Linked DNA regions of Homo sapiens: region 2 is linked to region 1. The links are contacts of gene promoters, found by promoter capture Hi-C in human tissues and cell types (Jung and others, 2019). All regions are on one chromosome and are shown on one strand. The core of a region is centred on a gene start or on the middle of the fragment in contact, and the rest is flanking DNA. Distances in the headings are between cores, read along the strand shown.

Region 1 (6,074 bases), core at 1,703-4,202:
ATTCTTATGATCAAAGATGGAGAGTCAACACCAAAATAAATCTCTAGTAAAAACACTCACCTATTTTCCATTAGTTTTCCCCATACATTTCCCACTTTCTCACAATCGACTGCCCCAGCCCAAACCCCCTTTTTCCTTTGTCTTGTCACATTTCCACAATTTATCCTTCTCTATTAAAATGCTTTATAAACTCTCAGGCCTCTCCCCTTCTTCGGGTCTTTATTTCTTATATAGGAAGCCCTCTGTGGTACACATAAAAACATTAACATCAAATAAAATGTGTATGTTTTTCCTCTGTTAATATGCCTTTTGTCAGTTTAGCTATCAGGACCAGGCACAGAAACTAAGAGGGCAGAGGAAAATCTTTCCTTTTCTACATATGCCAACACCAAGTCCAGGGTCAGCAAATGGCAGAAAATATTTCATTAAAAAAAAAAAAGTCCATAGTTTTATCCTCATAAAAACCCTGTAACGCAATGGTTATAATTCTATGAACACTTCAACAAGGGAAAACTGAGGCTCCAGGTTGCAGCAGCTGTCTAAAATCATATGCAAGAAGCCAGGCTTGCACTGAACTCAGGTCTCTGGACTGAAACCTGTATTCTGCACTGCTCCATGTGTAGCTTTTCAAAGACAACAAAGAAAAAAGATCCAGCCCAGACTGTCTAGACCATGACCAGAGAAGGGGATTGCTCAAAGGTGCTCAAAGGTGGTTGGAACTGAATGGTATTAGGCCATCTTAAAAGTCATCACCTGGGAAAGTACTGGAACAGCAGTAAAGTATATGGAAGGTTGACATATCTGGGTCTAAATCCAGGATCACTCTGTCATTAACCCTGTGTGGCCTTGGGCAAATCTCTTAAACTAGGGAGCGTCAACTTTCTCATCTGTAAAATGGGGTTTAAAACAATGATACTTATCTTTCAGGGTTTTATGTAAAGATTAAAGAATAAAAAACATTTTGTATTTTATAAAAAATAATAGTTATAAGAAACAGACTGAGGATATAGTAAGGATCAACCAAACTGCACTTATTATTATATGTTAGAGGAAAAAAATGGCACATATTAAATGCCTGTGCCACAAAGTATTTTTCATACCCTATCTTATTTCATTCCCACAGCAACCTTGTGAAGCAGGTGCCACTACTTTGATCTTATATTGAAGAAACTAAGGCCCAGAGACATTTAAGTAACTTGTCCAACATCACAGAGGTAGCAGTGGGCAGAGCCAGCATCCAGACATATCTTTCTGAGTCTAAAGCCCACATTAGTTTCAGTGGAGGGAAGATAAGGTGGACAGATATGTCCCAAATGTCTGAAAGCAGTGTGAAGTGCTAGAAGAGAAAGATTGGACCAGATTCATGTGTAGTTTGGGATGTGCATTAAAGATGTTTACCACATGTATAGGACAAGGCAGGGGAGAAACCAAAACAGAAAAAGATGGCCAGCAATAAATATCATGCTCCTCAATGTCCCTTTCAGCAAATAACACAATGAATAGTAAAGATGACTCATATTCATATTTCAGTCCTTGTGCTAAGAGCCTCCCGGTCAAATACCCCATACTGTAATACTGATGTATTATTTCCTCATGTCCTGGAAAATGTTCTGAAACAAAAAGAGGAAGTTCAGAAAGCTCACAGGAAACTTCTGATCTCCTTTACGCAAAGAAGGGGAAACAACTTCTACGAGGTTAGTCTCTTATTTTCATCATTGACACCAGGCACGTTAGAAGACGATTCAGGTAACCAGAACACAGTAGATGACTTAATATCATCTTATAGAGAAATAAATGCTACTTCACAATAACACAACAACAACGAATTGTTTCCTGGTATTTTCCATCGTCACACAGTTCCCCCAGGCTTGGACAACTAGGTCTCTGCATTCTCCAGTCAAGGCCCAGGAAACTTTCATGCTGTTCATGTTTTTGATTCATGCATCCAGGTTATGTTCTTGTAGAAAGGTAGTGCAAAAAAAAAAACGAGGGCAGGGGAGGCCTCTACCAGTGGGATGGAAAGTTCTTTTTAAGTGAGGCCCTCACACCAAGTTCTCCCACCTGAGGCCACAAGTCTGTGAACCCAGAAAGATGCTCAGGTGAGGCTAAGAATCCGGTCTTGGAGAAAGAAAACTCAACAAAGAAGGGATGGCTGAGCGCACTCTGGCAGAGCATAAAATCATTTTGTCTATTCAAATTTATGAGCATAAAGAGAGTGAGAGGTTCTCTACTAACATATACATCCTCGTGTGAACTTTTCCAAAGTAGAGCTAAGGGCAAACAGAGCTAGCAGATCTCATAGAAAACTCATTCCTAAGGGACTACCTGTAAACTCAGAAGTTTCTGTCTTCACATGATCAAATGCACAGTAGAGCCCACCTCCGCTCACTCTTCCCTCCATTTAAAGCGCTATGCCCCTCACCACCAGCAACTCACGCCTAGCCACTCCACCCCTCCCCGTGGCCCCTGAAAGGCCTCAGGCTCCACAGAGCCGCGGGACCCGCGGGAACACCCCTCCTCTCCCTACCATCCCCATTATTCGGCACACAGCCCTGCTCTCCCCTGGAGCCAACAGTCTGCAGCTCCTTCAATGCAGGCGCGAGCAGGAGGCAGGAATGGTGGGAAAAGAAGCTGTGCCAGCTGCATGTTTCAGAATCTCCCTCCATATGCATTTGCCAAAGGAACAAAAAGAAAATCAATGCCAGGAAAAGACAACTGAGATGAGGATGCGGTGGGACCGCGGCTGACTCCGTGCCTCTGAGCAGCAAGGGGCTGGCCAACCACGCGTCCGAGCCACAGATCCAAGTCGTTACCTTCAGGATGCAGGCCATGGCGCTCCGCCGGCCCTCCTGCCACCGAGCAGCGGGCGCGCCTGGGTCAGGGGCAGTCCTGGGGGCAGGCTGGAGGCTGGTACCACGGCAGGACCTCTCCAGCCCACATTCCCGCAGATCCAAATAAGGGGACCGCGGTGTAAGCTGCGCCGCCACAGACCCCGCCCCCCGAGCCGCGGCCCCGCCCCCGTCCCCATCCACTGGCCCGCGGCCCGCGCGGCCCCGCCCCCGGGTCACGTGCCGTCCTGGGCGCCGGCGCCGGCGGCTCCTCAGTGCCTGCTACTTCTTTCTCTTGTTTTCTTCTGTGAACCTTTCGCGGCTCGACGTGCGCAGAGTGCGCTCTGCAGCAGGCGGGGACCTGGGTCCCGCGGGGGGCAGAGTACGGCCTTTTCTTCTCGGTTCCGTCTCCTCTCACACATCAGAGAACTCCTTTTTACAGACGTTTCACACTTTGTCAAAGTTGAGTGGGTTTGGCATCGCCCTTCTGGAGACTTTGGGCACATCAAAGGGCTTTTCAAAAGTAGCAACGAAGTTCTCCCTGGGCTGTTCAAGGATTGAGCCTTCACTCTGTGATGGGCTTATCTAAAATTAATAATTTACCGCTAATAAGTGAGCACAAATATCAACGAAAGAAAGACGTCATGAACCTTACACTCTGTATGGTATATTTTGTGTGTGTGTACATATTTTACATATACATGTATGTGTGTATAATATATAAATTATTGCCTTTTCCTGGTACAAGCTTGTTTATGAAATTGTATATGCATGATATACAGTATACAGATACAGGATGCACACATGTGTATATTGTATTATATATGTACATGTTGATTGTACAGTATATGTTTATAAACTGTGTATGTGTACATGATAGGACTTTGCTCTTCCCTGCTCCAAGCAAGAGCCGGCTAAGAGAAGCAGTTATTTCTACAAGGAGAGTAAACGCATTGCAGAAGGGAGAGAGCATTCCGTGTACACACACAGATTTTTACCACTTGGTCTGTCAGAAAAATTTTAAAAGCGGCCCCCAAATATCTACCCAAAAGAAGTTTCACTTGCTAGAAGCTCCGTCTAGTTTGCCTCCATGGAATCAGGAAAAGCACTGTGGGCTGGTGGTGTCATGAGATTGGCTCACAAACCACAAGGCAGAATCCAGGCTTTCAAGGAATTTGGTATTTTCTTGATGAGAACATGCAGAATTCTTAGAGAGCAGGAGTAACCACAGGAAGGAGGTTGCAGAAGCTGAGCCTGTGGATGAACTGCCTGTCCCATGGGAAGCTCCTGTCTTCAGTCTCCCTGGAATACCACACCCTGCTCTTCGACTTCTTCCTCCCGCCCCTCCCTCCTCTGCCTTACAGATCCGGTGTGTTTTTAGTAAGAATTCTTTGTTTGGGACTATATACTTTAAACCGCTGCTTTAGCTCATGGTCCTTCATAGGCCAGGAAAATTCAGTATTTCATTCATTTACTCATCCCTTGATTGATTCCACAAACTTTTTTATTGAGCCACTACTAAATGGAAGAATAAACTTTATTCACCTTCCACTAAGTGGAGGAAAAATCTTTATTGAAGACCTTTCAGGGATAGGAGAATGACTTTCAGAATATCTAACATCAAGGTGGGCTCACAGTTAAGTGAGAAAGACAAGAATAAGAGATACATGATACTATAACATGGAAAGGGCCTTAGCCAAATTGGAAGCAAAGATCTCAGGAAGGAGAAAGAGAAACACCTGACCGTCCCCCAGCCCGACACCCGTAAAGGGTCTGTGCTGAGGAATATTAGTAAAAAAGGAAGGCCTCTTGCGGTTAAGAGGAAGGCCTCCGTCTCCTGCATGTCCCTGGCAGAACAGCAGAGCAAAGGGGTGAGGGTGGGCAGAGCACATCGTTCTCTCTAGAAAGTCTGTACATCTGGAAAGAGAAACAGCAGGCCCTAGTGAACAGCCCTGCTAAGTACTTCCCTGCTGGGTGTCCTTGATCAAGTTTCTTAACCTCTCTTTAATCCTTACCTTATCTAATATTATCTATCCTCAAGAGAATTAAATGAGATAATAATGTTTGCAAATTGCATTTACCTCAATTTCTGGCACTATGAGCACTTTTTATATGATAGCTCTTTATGTAAAGAAAAAAATCTTCCGCTAAAGACAGACTTGTGGGAGAAGATGAATAGGATAATTGCCATCAGCCTTGGGTGTCTCAGGAGGATGAACACCAACGGAGCAAACTTTTAACATGTTATGACTTGGGTATGCCGTGATGAGGCCTTTACTAATTCCCTCAATCTACTTGGATATGGCTTTCTCAATTACATTTCTATCCACCCATGTCCATACTTCCCAAGGTGTTATTTTTTTTATTAACATCCAAAAGTTATGTCAAACAGCTAGAAATAAAGGCACATTTATAACAATCTAAAAACAAACTCAAGTTCTAGAATAAATCTGGACTGGAAGATTTACAAAACAGTATTAACAATCACTGTTTTAGATGGACCACTCGATGTCTGGGGGTGGGGGGGAAGCTTTTGGATGGAAATAAAAACAGGTTTTGAACCTACCAGGGAATGGAGATAGCCAGATTTGTTGGGGCTGGGAGGATAGGAGTGTGTTGCCAGGATTTTTTTGTTTTAAAACTGGCCAAACTACAGGAACAGCTTAGTCAAATCCATAGGTGTAGCATAATTTTCCAGCTCTAACATTATGTGACTTAAAGCCAAGAGTTTCTATTTCCAAAAATAATAATAACAAAATGGAGCATCCTGCAATTAAAGAAAGTATCTCATTTGATCCTCACAACATCCACATGGATGTTATCATCCCCAGCTGGTAACTAGGGGAACAGGGGTTTGAATCTAGGGACTTGTGGGTTTGCCATCTTAACTGCTACATTCAGCTGTCCAGTATGTTAGAAGCCCAATTTCTGTCATTTGTCACTCTTCACATTTCATCTGTTGTCTTAGTGTAGCCATAGGAAAACTTAGGGTAAGTATGAATCCTCCCCGGGATACAGACTAGGATACAAAACCTAGGGTAAATATGTGAGTATGCAGAGGATAGGTACACTCTATCAATCTGAGTGTACCGGATACATACACTCACCCTGTATTTTTCAACCCTCAGCCCCTGGGTCATACCTTAACAAAGACCCAGCACTTCTCATCAGTCTCTCACCAACCAAGCTGTTACCACCTTCTGTGCATGAGAATGACTTCCAATCAAAGATTCTCACTGCTGCATC
Region 2 (6,063 bases), core at 106-2,605, 85 kb after region 1:
CTTTGGCAAATGCATGAACTGTGACTCCTATATTTTGTATCTATTTTCTCACTTAAGACTTGAGGGCACTACAGGAAGAGCATTTCTCTCTTCTTTTACCATCTTCACTCTTGAGAGGCTTAGGGTTTGCTCGGGGAGACTCATAAATAAATAAATAAATAATAATAATAATAATAATAATTTGAATCCCAGGAAAGCTTTGGAATAAATGAGATCATGTCTATGAAAGTTATGTGTGAGCTGGAAAGTACTGTGAGTGTGTCAGGGTTCAGTTAGGAAAGCAGAGCCATGTATTAGGGGATTAAAGGATTTAGTATGGGAATTAGACTTTACAGTAAACATGGGAGGATCTGGAGAAGTGAATGTCTAGAAAAGGAAATAAGAGAATCAGAGATAGGGTCATTAACCAATGCCCCTGAAGTCCTGCACAGATGGACTAGTTTTTCTACTTCTCCAAGCATCAATTTCCTCCTACATAATGGTAAAGCATGGAGGTTCTAGAATCTGACTACTTGCATTCAAATCCTGGATCCGCAACTTCCTGGTTGTATAGTCCTGTGAAAGTTACTTCACCTCTCTATATCTCATTTCCTCCTTTGAAACTAAGGATAATAACAGCACCTGTCTATGGAGTTGTTGTGAGAATTTAGTGAAATAATACTTAGAACAGTGCCTGGACCATGTAAGCACTCAGTCAATGCAGCAATCTTTACCATCACAGGAGCATGGTGATCACTGAAAAGGATGTACGTTAGGCAGTTGGCTCACTACCCAGAATATTATACGTGCTCAGTAAACACTAGCTATGAGCTATGATAGCTTAAGATTTTGAGTCAGAGACATTGTAAGGGCAATGTAGGAGAAGTTTACATGTTGAAAATGCTAAGACATATTGGGGAACAGTCACTTGTGTGGCTGGAAGATAGGTTCTGAAGGAAACTGATGGAAACTATGATTGGAGAGACATGTCAACCAGGAAGCACTTAAGTATCACATAAACAACTAAGAGCCACAGCATGCTCTTAAGACTGACATAATGAAAGAGACTCTTTTTAGAGATTACCTGGCAGAATCTGTAGATTAGAATGGGAGAATGGGGTTAAGAATCAAATCTGCAGCAAGAAAGACTAGTTAGATAGTTCTTGTAATAATCTAGGGAAATAGTAATGAGGACTTGGATTATGATAGTAAGGATGGAAATGAAGAGAGAGAAAGTAAAGATGTGTCACATAGCAGAACTAACAGACCATGGAAATTAATTAGATATGAAATATAGCAAAGAAGAGAGCTCAAAACCAATTTTTAGGTTTAAAAAAGTCAAAGAAAAGAGCAGCCATTTGTGGAAGACAATTTTTTGAGCATGTGAAAATGAAGTACTCAGGTAAAAATGTGTGGACCGGAGCTCAGGAGAAATGTCGGGCTGGAGATAATGATCTGAGATTCATCTGGTGAGAGCTCTGAGAGTGGAAGACAAAATGCCTTCACTGCCAATCTCAATTTGGAATATGGAAAAAAGAAAAAGAAAGAGAGATAGATCGAGACAACCCTAAATATAACACAGCAAATCCTCACTAAATGTTGTCAATAGGTTCTTTGAAACTGCGACTTTAAATCATGGTTCCAGTCTGAGTGAATGTGGAGGTGTGTGTGAGGGCACCTTGTGATGGAAGGTTGTCTTGTCCAGGACTGGTTTTTTGTTTTATAATGAAAACGATTATAAATTGTTTCAATAATTGTTTTCATTATTATCTTATTTCATTCATTATTATCTTAGGCTAATTGGTATAAACAAGAGTTAAGTTCCCATGGCATATTTCTGGTAACAAAAACTTACCAGACTTCTAAATAAAGACCCAAAACACTTCTAATATTAAACAATGAAATAAAAGAGAGCTACATGTACAATTAAGAAAGAGTAATAAAAACAAGTAAGATCATTATTTACCCAAATTTGGCGAATCAGTGAGTATTAGCAGCTGTCATGGTGAAGGGTTAAGTCCAGGATAAATGTTTGCAAAGCAAAAATTGTAAGGAGCACCTCCTATTACCATGCAATTTAAAAACTAACTGTGGCAAATAGGGCAGGCTTGCTGAGTGTTTTTATACCACATTGCTTATTGTCATTTATCTGTATGATTTTGGTCTCATTTATGAATTTTTATTTGACAATAAATTATATTTGTGTATTCATTTATTTTCCAACCTGCTTATTCCAGTTCAGGGTCATGGGTGGCTGAATCTTCTTCTGGGAACCAGTCCTGGACAAGACAATCTTCCATCACAAGGTGCCCTCACACACACCTCCACATTCACTCAGACTGGAACCATTCAGACACACCAATTCATTTAGGGCACCTACAAAATCTGTGCACAGCTTTGGGATGTGGGAGAATATCAGTGCAGGCATGGGGAGAACATGCAAATTCCACATAGAGAGTGGCTCCAGCCAGAGAGCTTTTTTGTCTTCTCATCAATGCTATAAAGAAATGACAGTGAATGAAACAACATTATTTGGGGACCTACTGTATAAGTAAATCTTATTTAATAATGCACCCGTGTGTATAAAAAGATAAATAAATAGGCTATTGTAATCAATTAAGATTTATTCCCTGAGTTCAAGAATGGCTTAACGATAGAAAAAGTCTATTCATATGATTTTACCAATTAAAATGATTCTTAAAAATGACCATCTCAATGGATGCAGAAGAAAACATTTGATAGAATTCAACATTCATTAGTTACATTTTAAAAAACTTAGCAAACTAGGAATAGAAGAAAGATTTCTTAAAACAATAAAGAATGTATACCAAAATCTATGGCAAACTTTATACTCACTGATATACATTATACATTAGAAGTCTTTCTTTTAAAATCAGAAACTAGAAAAAAAACACCCTCTATCATATTTCTATTCAACATTGCAATGGATGTTCAAACCAATACAGCAAGACAAAGAGAAATAAAAGGACAGTAAAATTTTAAAATCAGATACTTTATTATCAGATGATGTGGTCTACAGAGAAATTACTTAAAATTAATAAATTATTTACAGTTGATAAATCATTAATAATTTATAATAATTTCCCCTGAAAATTTGGTGAATGGAAGATGAATATATAAAACTTAACTGAATTTCTAAACATCAACAGAAAAATGTATTTTTAAAAGATACCAGTTATAATAGTAACAAATATATATATATAAAAGATACCCAGAAATAAATTCAAACCAAAGATGCAGAAGACCATTATGGAGAAAAATTTGTAAATATTAAAAGATACTATAGATATCTCAAACAAATGGTAAGATACACAATGTTTGTGAATAAAAAGACTCAATATCATAAAAATGTCAATTTTTCTAAAATTCATTCATTAATCCAATGTAATTTCAACTGAGATTCCAAAAGTTTTCATGGATTTAATACTATGATTTTTGGCCAGGCGCGGAGGCTCAAGCCTGTAATCCCAGCACTTTGGGAGGCTGAGGTGGGAGATCAGGAGATCAAGACCATCCTGGCTAACACGGTGAAACCCCGTCTCTACTAAAAATACAAAAAATCAGCCGGGCATGGTGGCAGGTGCCTGTAGTCCCAGCTACTCGGGAGGCTGAGGCAGGAGAATGGCGTGAACCCAGGAGGCGGAGTTTGCAGTGAGCAGAGATCGCGCCACTGCACTCCAGCCTGGGTGACAGAGCAAGACTCTATCTCAAAAATTATATCTATATCTATATCTATCTATCTATATATCTGTCTATCTATCTATATGATTTTTAAATGTATATGGGAGAACAAAAGACCAATAACAAATATAAAAATTTTAAAGAAGGAAAACTATTAATAAACCCAAAGTATTACAATTTGCACTTTCAGTTCATTACATATCATAAGGATTGAGGGATTTGTCCTACTTAACATCAGTATTATTTTCCTATTTGTCCTATTTAACATAAGTATTATTTTCTATCTGTAGTAAGACAGTATTAAGACAGTGTGAGATTTGCCAGAGACAGACAAAAGACCAATGGAACAATGGGGATCCCAGAAACTGACTCATGCATATCTAGAATCCTAATATAAGACATATGCAGCATCAAAGGTTATTGGGTAAAGGATAAAGTATTCAAAAAATCATGCTAATTCCATCACAACTTGGTGAAATGAAAAAAAACATACTAAAATAATCAATTTTTTCAATGTGGAAAAAATAAAAGTATACTCCTACTGCACACTACAAACAAAATAAATCCCAGGTGATTAAAAACCTAAATGTAAAAACCCAAGCTTTTAAAAATTAGAATATATTGACCACAGGTTTTTGTGATTCTCACACAAAACACGAAAATCAAAAACCATGAGGAAAAATATTAATAAACTCAAGGTATTAAAATTTGCACTTTCAGTTCATTACATATCATAAAAATGAAAAGATAAATTAGACAAATGTTTTGCTCACATATATCTACAAAACTGTTGTTCCCATAATATCATAACATTAAAAGTCTCGAACAAATTGATAAAGAAAAAGATAAACAACTCAAATGGAAACTAAGCAAACAATACTAACAGACAATACTAGAAAAGAACACCCAATGACTAATAACACTCGCTCACATAATAGATATTGAGCAACTGGACCGTGAATGCACTGTGAGTGGTTCTGTAAGTTAGCAGGGTCACTTGGAGAGTCGCTGCTATTTCTAACAAAGTTGAAAGTGAGCTCATGCTTCAACCCACCAATTTCACATCTAGGTATGGACCTCAGAGGGCACAGTATTGTCCCTTGGGGGAATGTGGAAATTTGTCAGCCCTCACCTGATTTCAAATTGCAAAATCTACTTCCACTCAAAAAGATACTAGAATGTTAGCAATTTTATTTTGAAAATATGAATGTAATGGGTTGTACCTATTTAGCTTTATAAAAGGAGATTCCTTTCTGTCTTTGCAAGCTCTTAGTGGATTGCTTGTGATATACATCCCACTCTGGTTTAATATTTATTTTAAAAATAAAACTGTTTTCTTTCTCAAAAAAAAAAAAAAAGAAAAGAAAGAAAGAGAGAAAGGAAGCTTGGCCTAGCACCAATACTTGCTTCTAGCCCCAAGTGGCTCCAGAGGAAAAGGTGAGTTAAATAGGTATGGAGTGGCCCAGTCTTGCCATGGACCTCCAGAATCTTAGCTTCAGGAGACTCCACAACACCCATGGACATTTGAGATGTCAAGAAGCGCTGCTTGGAGATTTATCAGGGACATAACTGCAACTCGTGTGAAGTCCAGAGGGTTTTGCATGGGAATAGCTACAGTGGAACACAGCCAGGGACACTTATCCCCAAGGTTTCCACACTCCTCTAGATAGCTCTGGCCTTCTTTGACTATTGGACTTGGACAGAAAAGAGTTATCTTGCCCTTGGGATAGGATCAGTCTGATCTGAGCATCCCCCTGTCTGCCAGCATTTCCCTGGGTCCCTGCCTGGCCATACCTGCTTGCAACACAGTGTCAATGCCCAACCAGGACACTTCACAGCAGCCACTACCATAGCTTCTTCACTGGTAGACTCCACAAACCATCAGAGAGCTCCTGCAGACAGTGCCCCCCGCAACCCCGGCATGCACCTATCTGTAACCTCCCCCAGTTGCCTTAGCAGTGCATGCACATGAGCAGACCTTGCCATCCCAATCAAGTGCTTTTGCCAGCACCCCCCACCCCTGCCCATTGGACTGTTGTTGGCAGTGGACCAGGAATACCTCAGCCCCTCAAGCAGAGCAGGTGCTTAACCTCAAGTGGCCAGAGAACAAAGCCATGGGCCTGGTCCCAACTTCCCAAAGTTAGCGCATGCAGCACTGGAGTCCTGAGCTGAGTCTTGGCCCCCTGAAATTGTCCAGAAATAAAGCCAATCAACTGAATCCAACTTACACCACAGTCAAACCCTTAAGAGCATCAGAGAATATAAAGAGCTCTGGTGACTCTAAAAGCCACAGTGTCTTCTTACTTCCAAATAACCATGCTAGCTCCCCAGGAATGGTTCTTAACCAGGTTGAAATGGCTGAAATGACAGACATAGAATTCC

The links. The method cuts DNA at HindIII sites, captures the fragments that hold promoters and counts their contacts. A contact is called where the count stands out against the background at its distance.
Region 2: a contact is called between a fragment that was not itself captured here and the fragment with the promoter of ST6GALNAC3 in region 1, in 2 of the 25 tissues and cell types used here (heart left ventricle and small bowel).

What each region holds. Positions count from the first base shown.
Region 1 is chr1:76,071,624-76,077,697 of GRCh38, reverse strand. ST6GALNAC3 (ST6 N-acetylgalactosaminide alpha-2,6-sialyltransferase 3) reads right to left here and starts at 2,952. Exons shown (of 5, transcript NM_152996.4): 1 at 2,814-2,952. The coding sequence starts at 2,831. RefSeq lists a silencer at 2,952-3,151. The HindIII fragment of the contact is 7,284 bases long and covers 1-4,467 here.
Region 2 is chr1:75,984,646-75,990,708 of GRCh38, reverse strand. All of the region lies in intron 2 of LOC105378806 (a long non-coding RNA gene), which reads left to right. Among named protein-coding and RNA genes, the nearest start is that of ASB17, 55 kb to the right of the region's middle. The HindIII fragment of the contact is 6,639 bases long and covers 1-4,674 here.